Linked DNA regions of Homo sapiens: all the other regions are linked to region 1. Evidence: promoter capture Hi-C in 16 types of primary human blood cells and fetal thymus (Javierre and others, 2016). All regions are on one chromosome and are shown on one strand. The core of a region is centred on a gene start or on the middle of the fragment in contact, and the rest is flanking DNA. Distances in the headings are between cores, read along the strand shown.

Region 1 (2,669 bases), core at 124-2,623:
GTGTAGGCCCCTTTTTTATGGAATTAATAATAATTATAAATGAAGTAGCAACAACGATAACAGCTGACTTTATCAGTGTGTGTCCCTGTCAGGCAGGGTTTTTACCTCCATCATCATAGCACATTCGATCCACCGCTATATTAAGAGGTAGGTCTTGATTATCTTCATTTCATAGATGAGGAATTGAAGGAACAGAAAAGTCTAGTTACTTGACCCAGGCCCTAGAACCAGGATTTGAATCAAGTCTGATGCCAGAGCTTGGGATCTTCATTGCATTTGATGTGATAATTCATTTGTGAAAAAACAAAGCAATTCATTTGTTTTCATTTGTCAAAAACAAAACAAAATTTCAACTAAGATAACTGTTGAGCTCTTTACCGTTAAAATAAAATCGGGTGTTGAAATGAGTAACAGCAAGCCTTGAGAAAAGACACCCTGAGAAGTCAAGAGGATGCATTAACTGTCTACAGATGAACAGAATCTCTTCTCTTCTTTGAACAAGAAAACCCAGCAGTAACTTTTATCTAGGTTTCACATTTCAGGAGTTACAGTAGGGGTAAACCAAAACAGGTTAAAAAAAAAAAAAAAAAAAAAAAAAAGCAAAAGCCCAGCAAGCTGAGACATCAGAGTCCTTCAGAAGGAATGATTTGCCGTCTTCTCTTCAGGACATCCCCTCTTTAGGAGGACAAATTTTTTCTCCAGGGAAAGGGGCGTCCGCCTCAGAAATGGGGGTGTAGGTGAGGGATCTTGTTGCTTTAACTGTTTGTTCATTAATCCCTGCACTTTACTAGATTTAGTTCTGCCTGTTAACGTAGCCTCAGGACACTTGGCTAGGAAGGCTGGAGTGTACTCTCTGGGTTAGTTATTTTGGGACATTCTCGCCCTGCTGCTTGGGATGAAGAGGTCCTAATTAAATACCCGGACCTTCCAACGGGTAGATTTTCAAAGAAGATGCCCAGCTATGCTGCATCCTCATCCACACTCTCCCGCTCCCCCCAAACTAGTGCAAAAAAGCTTGCCAGGGCCTGCAGAAAGCGCCGCGACTGCGAGGCTGACACGCGTCTTTCCTTCCCTCCCCCGGGGAATGATCCCAGCATCTCTCGCAGTGATGTCAGTGTAATCCTGAGTCGGATCGGGCTCCCGGCTGGGTGGCGGGGGGGCAGATGATGCTCCCGCCAGCTGGGCAGAGCAAGGGTGTTCCCCGCGGAGGTGGCAGCCCTGGGCCGCGGCGTTCCGGAACCCCCGCACCCACGGCGCGGTGCCCCACGGTGCCCGCGAGCGCCGCCCCCGCTGGCTAGCCGCGCCTCGCTCCGCCCTGGACGCCGCCGGTCCCGGCGCGGAGGTGCGGCGGGGAGTGGGAGCCGGCCCGGCTCAGTCTGATTTACGGCTCTGCTGAAAACCGCTTCGCTCCCGCAGCATCAGCACCGGAGGCGGCGGCTGCAGCAGCAGCAGCAACAAGTCGGGTAAGAGGCGGCCGCCGGCCATCTGCGCCCGCGGCTCGGCGGAGGGGACCTGCCGGGGTGGCCGGGGCTGGGGAGGGGGTCCCCGAGCCCGCAGCATGGCGGGGAGTTGGGAGAGCCGGCTTCCCGGCCCCCACCAGCAGGAACTCATGTGCACACGAATCCACTCTGGCACCCGTGGGCTGGCACGCAGCGGAGAGGGGGCGGGGAGAGCTGGGACCCCGGGGCAGGGTCATTGCCAGCCTGCCCTTCTCTGGCAGAGTCACTTAGGGCTCTTCATCAGCCCAGTGGACTGGGTTTCCTCTGGGCCCATAAAAGCCTGCGTGCTCTGGAGTGTGTGATTACCCATTTCCCCATCCAAAATGCCACCCTTTTCCCATTGCCCCCTTAGAATCCTGACTTCCCCTTTCCTTACCTCTTGTCAGCGTCTTTGGCCCTATGCTGAGCCAGGGTTTGCATCTCGTTCCCAGAAAACCAGTGGTTAAACATCCCGGTGTACCCATCACAGGAAGAGGTTCCCCTCTCTGGGGGCCGGGGGCTTCACCTAGAAGCCTTGCCTGCCTCGCTGCCTGGGGACCATTTGCACCTCTGCTTTTGAAGAGGTTGAGGACACTTTTCACCCAAAGACCCCAGCTGGGCTCCCTCATTTCGGGTCCAATGCTTGTTACATTTAAGTAGAAACCTTTCATGGAGGAATAGAAGATATGCACTGCTTGCAGAATTGGGTTGCCAACAGTCATCTGTTGCTAGGGTGAAGATAATGCATTCCTACAAGGAAACCAGAACTTCCTGTTATTAAGAGAGTATGCTGATACCTACCTGGTTCACACACTGACCATCCCTAGAGGTTGTCATATAAAATAGCATCTGAGACAAGACAAATCCGTCCAGAACACTCTATTATAATAAAAATCTTGGCCATGGCCCCACTTATGCCAAATGGTATTTGACACATTGGGTCCCCAGGTTTCAGTGAAACTCACGTATGGGGTCTGTTATTGTTACGATTAGCACTTTGGTTTATGTCATCACAGCAATACCTGAAGGAAAAAAAGGCAAAAATTTCAGGGTGAAAAATTTTCAGCTGATTGCAGGCTTAATGCCACTGTGCATAGCTTGAGTAATCTTTCCTGTACTTGAGGATAGGTCCTGAGCTTGCTGTCTTAGGACCCATTTTGACAATTCATGTGAGTTTTCATATGTTCTTGT
Region 2 (2,669 bases), core at 115-2,614, 770 kb after region 1:
ATTTTTGTAGAGACGGGGTTTCACCATGTTAGCCAGACTGGTCTCAAACTCCTGACCTCAGATGATCCACCCGCCTTGGCCTCCGCAAGTGTTGGGATCACAGGCATGAGCCACCATGCCCGATTTTTTTTTTTTTTTTTTTTTGAGACAAGATCTCACTCTGTTGCCCGGACTGGAGTGCAGTGGTGCGATCACAGGTCACTGCAGCCTCCATTACCCAGGCTCAAGTGATTGTCCTACCTCAGCCTCCTCAGTAGCTGGGACTACTACTACAGGTGCGAGCGCCACACCCGGCTAATTTTTGTATTTTTTGTAGAGATGGGTTTTCACCATATTGCCCAGGCTTGTCTCAAACTCTTGAGCTCGAGTGATCTGCCTGCTTTGGCCTCCTAAAGTGCTGGGATTATAGGCATGAGCCACAGCACCCAGCCACTTTTTACCTTTTTTAAGTGATGTAAAAAACACGTGAAGTTTACCTTCTTAATTATTTTTAAGTGTACAGTTTAGTAGTGTTAAGTATATTCGCATGGTTGTGCAACAAATGTCCAGAATTTTTTCATCTTGCAAAACTGAAACTATGCCGTTTGAATACCTACTCCCCATTTCCCCCTCCCCTGTTCAATGATGAGTTGTTCCACCATTCAACTTTCCTGTTTTTAAGAATTTGACTACTTTAGATACCCAATAAGTCGATTTGTATAGTATTTGTCCTTTTATGACTGGCTTATTTTATTCAGTCTAATGTCCTCACAGTTCATCCATGTTGTAGTATGTGTCAGAATTATCTTCCCTTTTTTTTTTTTTTTGAGACACAGTCTCGCTCTGTCACCCAGGCTGGAGTGGAGTGGCGCGATCTCGGCTCACTGCAAGCTCTGCCTTCCGGGTTCACGCTATTCTCCTGCCTCAGCCTCCTGAGTAGCTGGGACAACAGGTGCCCCCCACCACGCCTGGCTAATTTTTTTTGTATTTTTAGTAGAGACGGGGTTTCACCGTGTTAGCCAAGATGGTCTCGATCTCCTGACCTTGTGATTTGCCTGCCTCGGCCTCCAAAAGTGCTAGGATTACAGGCGTGAGCCACCGCGCCCGGCCAGAATTACCTTACTTTTAAAGACAGTACCTTTCCATTGTGTGTGTATACTGCATTTATCCATCTATCTGTTGATGGACATCTGGATTGCTTTCACCTTTTGGCTGTTGTGAATAATGCTGTTATGAATATGGGTGTACAATGCTTTTTGCTTTTTTGTGAAGCTGTGAAGCTTTGCTAAATCGTGTGTGTTTGTTACTGAGGAAAATCGTTACATGAGGTAGAAAACTTTAGCTGATTATCTCTGCCTTTCTCCTTGCTAGTTAAATGTATAATCTTATGTAAGTTACACGACCTCCCCATCAGTCTTTTGGGCCTCCTTATGTAAGAGAGGAAAACACATTAACAAAGTCGTAGTTAAAGCAGCTGAAATAATGTATATTAAAGCTTTTTTTTTTTTTTTTTTTTTTTGAGATGGAGTTTCACTGTTTTCACCCAGGCTGGAGAGCAATGGCATGATCTTGCCTCATTGCAACCTCTGCCTCCCAGGTTCAAGCAGTTCTCCTGCCTCAGCCTCCTGAGTAGCTGGGATTACAGGCGCCCGCAGAGACGGTGTTTCACCCTGTTAGCCAGGATGGTCTCGATCTCCTGACCTCATGATCTGCCCGCCTCGGCCTCCCAAAGTGTTGGGATTACAGGCGTGAGCCACTGCGCCCAGCTAATTTTTGTATTTCTAGTAGAGATGGGGTTTCACCATGTTGGCCAGGCTGGTCTTGAACTCCTGACCTCAGATGATCCGCCTGCCTCAGCCTCCCAAAGTGCTGGGATTACAGCCATGAGCCACTGTGCCTGGACTTAAAGCTCTTTTGAAATTATTAAAGTGTAAGGAGGCCAGTGACTGCTTATTTAATAAGTTTTCCTTCAATTACATTATTTGCTGTTAGAACTTCTGATTTTTTTGACTTTGTTCTTTTGATGAGATATCTTTAAAACAATCTTTGTAATATTAGATGTTGGTATCATGAATTCATCAACTGCAATGTCCAAATTTTTTATTTTAAAAACAAATAGTAACTTTAATGTTGAAAGAATGAGATGATAGAAGAGAAGCTTGGATTTTACTACATGATGAGTGATTTCCTGATTATAGTTTTTAGACTATACAGATTAGTGAAAGTATCTACAAAATAGCTCTTGTTTTGAAAGGAGCTTGTTAAAAATCAAGAAAATAGACATTTTGAATAACAATCTATGATTGTAACTCTTGGTTTATCTCCAAAGAGTGGAAGAATGTGAGTCACTGAAGGAGTTAAGTGCCTGGTGTTAACCTTGAGAGGGCTTATGGTAGAAGTGAAAGAAGTTGCCAGTTCCTTTCAGATGCTGCAGTTCTAGGCTCTACCCATTACATTTCCCCAGCTACAGATAGAGCTGTAATAGTGATTTGATATGTGGCAACAAAACAGTATTATTTATCTTCTTAAAAGGTAGTTGCTTTTTGAAAGAAATCATGTTTTATTTTATGATCCAGAGGAACTTAGGGATGTTTGTCTTCTAGGCTCATCAACAGAGCAGACGAGCAGACCGTTTATTAGCTGCAGGCAAATACGAAGAGGCTATTTCTTGTCACAAAAAGGCTGCAGGT
Region 3 (2,669 bases), core at 48-2,547, 520 kb before region 1:
TAATCATACCTTAAAAATAAATAAGTAAAACTAATTATTTAATATCACCATTAGTCAGTGCCCCCTATATGCACACAATTTTTATTTAAGTAGGATCCAACTCTGCATCTCTGAAGCCTCTGTTAATCTATAGAGTTCTCCTTCCCACCTCCCTGACTGGGACGAACCATTTCAATTTGCCTGGGACTGGGTGGGTTTCAAGATTCCATACTTACAGTGCTACAACCAGGAAAGTCTTGGAAAACCAGGTACGAGCTGGCTCTACTCTTTTCCCCACCCCTTGCCAAATTATTTGTCCTGCAGCACTTCCCACAGTCTGGATTTTGCTAAGTACATTCCCATTGTGTCATTTCTTATGTACCTTTATCCCTTGTATATCCTCAAAATTGGTTATTAGGTCTAGAAGCTAGATCACATTCAGGTTTAATATTCTCACACACAAAAAGCAACCTTCTTGGGTCATAGTATGTGTACATACACACACTATTTCAAGTTGTCTCTTTTCATGTGTGATCTTGGCAGCCATTGGGATTGTTACCTAGACATGTTTAAGTAGTAGTTTTCTAATTCTACACCTGCTTCTTTCTTTATTAACAGAAATACTTACATAAAGAGAAACTTTTTCTCTCTTGGTTACCCTGAGACATAGTCCTTAGAAGGTTCTGAGAGGTGAATGGCAAACAATGTCTCTAGATGTTTTTCTAAACATCACTCTGACTCTTGTGAGAACAGCAGCTATTAGGGAGTTACAAATAGGATCAAGAGAATGGTAGAGAGGCTGTGTTCTAGAAGAGAGACAAGAATGTCTTGAACTAGGGTGGGAGCAGTGGAGTTGAGAAAACATGGTCAGATATGGGATGGAGAGTCAATGCTGAGAGGTTAGGTATGGGGTGCTAAGGAAAGAGAAGAGATAAGGATGACCCCAAGGTTCTGAGTAACTGAGTAGGTGAGGGTGACATTTGCTGGGATGGGGAGAATGTGAGAAGAAACAGGTTTGGGCTTAGAAGAGATAGCATATAATAAAGTGAAACAAAATTGCCTGAGTTGTAAGAAAAGATGTGCAACTATTCTAGAGGATCTTGATCTAAAACTCAAGAGATGCCCAGACCACTGAAAATATGAGTCTTTTTTTTATTTTTAAATTTGTGTTCCCAGTATCAAACAAGTTAACTCTTCTAAATACTTGGAGGATACTCTTTTTCCAGCCTATCACCAAGGCCATTTGTCAGAGCTGTGGCTTCCGGAACTCATGAATGCATCATGAGGGTGAGACATCAAGTCCAAATTTTTACAAACACCACATTCACACTCTGTGTAAAGCACTCAAAGCTGTTACCACAAATCAATGTCATCTAGAGACTAAACTAACATTTGATGACAGCCAAGAGCAGCCACTCTTCTCCCTGTTGATGTGATTTCCTTTCCGGGTCCACCTTAGAAGGTTGTGCAGTTATGACTCTAGGAAACACCATTCCCATTGTGGTCTGTGATAGTCCTTCCCATTGAAGTCTCACCTCTCCAGGAAAATCCTGAAGGAGAAAGTGAAAGGCAACTCATCTAGGTGTAGGTGGTGGCTGCTGTCTACACAGCCAGAGAAGCCCTGAGCAACTCCTCTTCCTGAAAAATGACTCTCCTGAAACATCTTACTTTAATTATTCTGTTGTGGGCATCCTTTTTAAACACAAAATGCCATTACTCCTATATTCATAAACTGAAAAAATGTCTTCATCTAGAGCTCCTCTAAAGGTGATCTTCCCTTCCCACTTTTGTTTGATGTCATGTGACTTTTTGAATTTTACCATCTCTGGTAGGGGTGGGCCAGCAGATATCACTGGGAGAAGGAGAAAAAGCAAACACACTGCTCCATGCTTCTCAGCCAGAAAATATGATACACTGTTTGTTACTATGGAGAGTGAAGGAGTGATGTGGGTGAGTGCATTCATAGATTTATTTGTAAGCTGATTTATACTGATGAGCCTGCAAGCGCCCCACCATGGAATGAGAGGCAGTCTTCGGGAGAAGAAGTGGTACTGAGCTATAAAATATCACAAGGGAAAGATAATAGCAGTTCAGAGGCAGATGACATTTTACTGTCAATGAAGCCTTTTCCCTTCATCTCTTGAATCCTGCAGCTACTTTATGAGTTAGGCAGGGCAGGGAGTGTGAACCTCATTTCAGAAATGAGAAAGTTTGAAGAGGAAAAGTGATTTCCTCACAATCCCACTGCTTATAAGTCACAGAGTGAAGTGGCATATCCATGTCTTCTGACCCCAGGGCCTACAGGTGGGAGTGAGCTTCTTGCTTAACCAATAGTGAGTGGTGGACTTCAGCTTCAGTGGGGTAGATACTTCAGACATTAGTCTTTCTCAATATCCCTCTTCAAAAGTGGTGGTGTGAGCAACCATTACTACCAGTGAAATATGCCAATGTAAGCCCAAAGCTATTGCCTTGTATTCCCTGGGAACATCTTTTCTGGAAGGCTGACATCAATCAGAAATGGCCCTTTGAAAATGTGGTAAATATACATCATGGAATACTACTCAGCCATAGAAAGAAACAAAATAATGTCTTTTGCAGCAACTTGGATAGAGCTGAAGACCATTGTTTTAAGTGAAGTAATTCAGTAATGGAAAACCAAATATCATATGTTCTCACTTAAAGTCCGTGCT

The links. Contacts are between HindIII fragments. The CHiCAGO score rates a contact against its expected background, and 5 or more counts as called.
Region 2: a fragment that was not itself captured here is called in contact with the fragment with the promoter of ZNF365 in region 1 in 1 of 17 cell types (naive B cells); the score reaches 6.5 in naive B cells.
Region 3: a fragment that was not itself captured here is called in contact with the fragment with the promoter of ZNF365 in region 1 in 1 of 17 cell types (neutrophils); the score reaches 5.1 in neutrophils.

The regions. Positions count from the first base shown.
Region 1 is chr10:62,372,996-62,375,664 of GRCh38, forward strand. ZNF365 (zinc finger protein 365) reads left to right here and starts at 1,374. Exons shown (of 5, transcript NM_014951.3): 1 at 1,374-1,463. LOC283045 (a long non-coding RNA gene) reads right to left here and starts at 2,132. Exons shown (of 4, transcript NR_104162.1): 1 at 1,876-2,132. The HindIII fragment of the contact is 2,300 bases long and covers 1,013-2,669 here.
Region 2 is chr10:63,143,627-63,146,295 of GRCh38, forward strand. It overlaps NRBF2 (nuclear receptor binding factor 2), which reads left to right. Exons shown (of 4, transcript NM_030759.5): 2 at 2,583-2,667. Among named protein-coding and RNA genes, the nearest start is that of NRBF2, 12 kb to the left of the region's middle. The HindIII fragment of the contact is 215 bases long and covers 1,258-1,472 here.
Region 3 is chr10:61,856,666-61,859,334 of GRCh38, forward strand. The region is part of intron 2 of LINC02625 (long intergenic non-protein coding RNA 2625); the gene reads right to left. Among named protein-coding and RNA genes, the nearest start is that of LINC02625, 9.9 kb to the right of the region's middle. The HindIII fragment of the contact is 7,953 bases long and covers 1-2,669 here.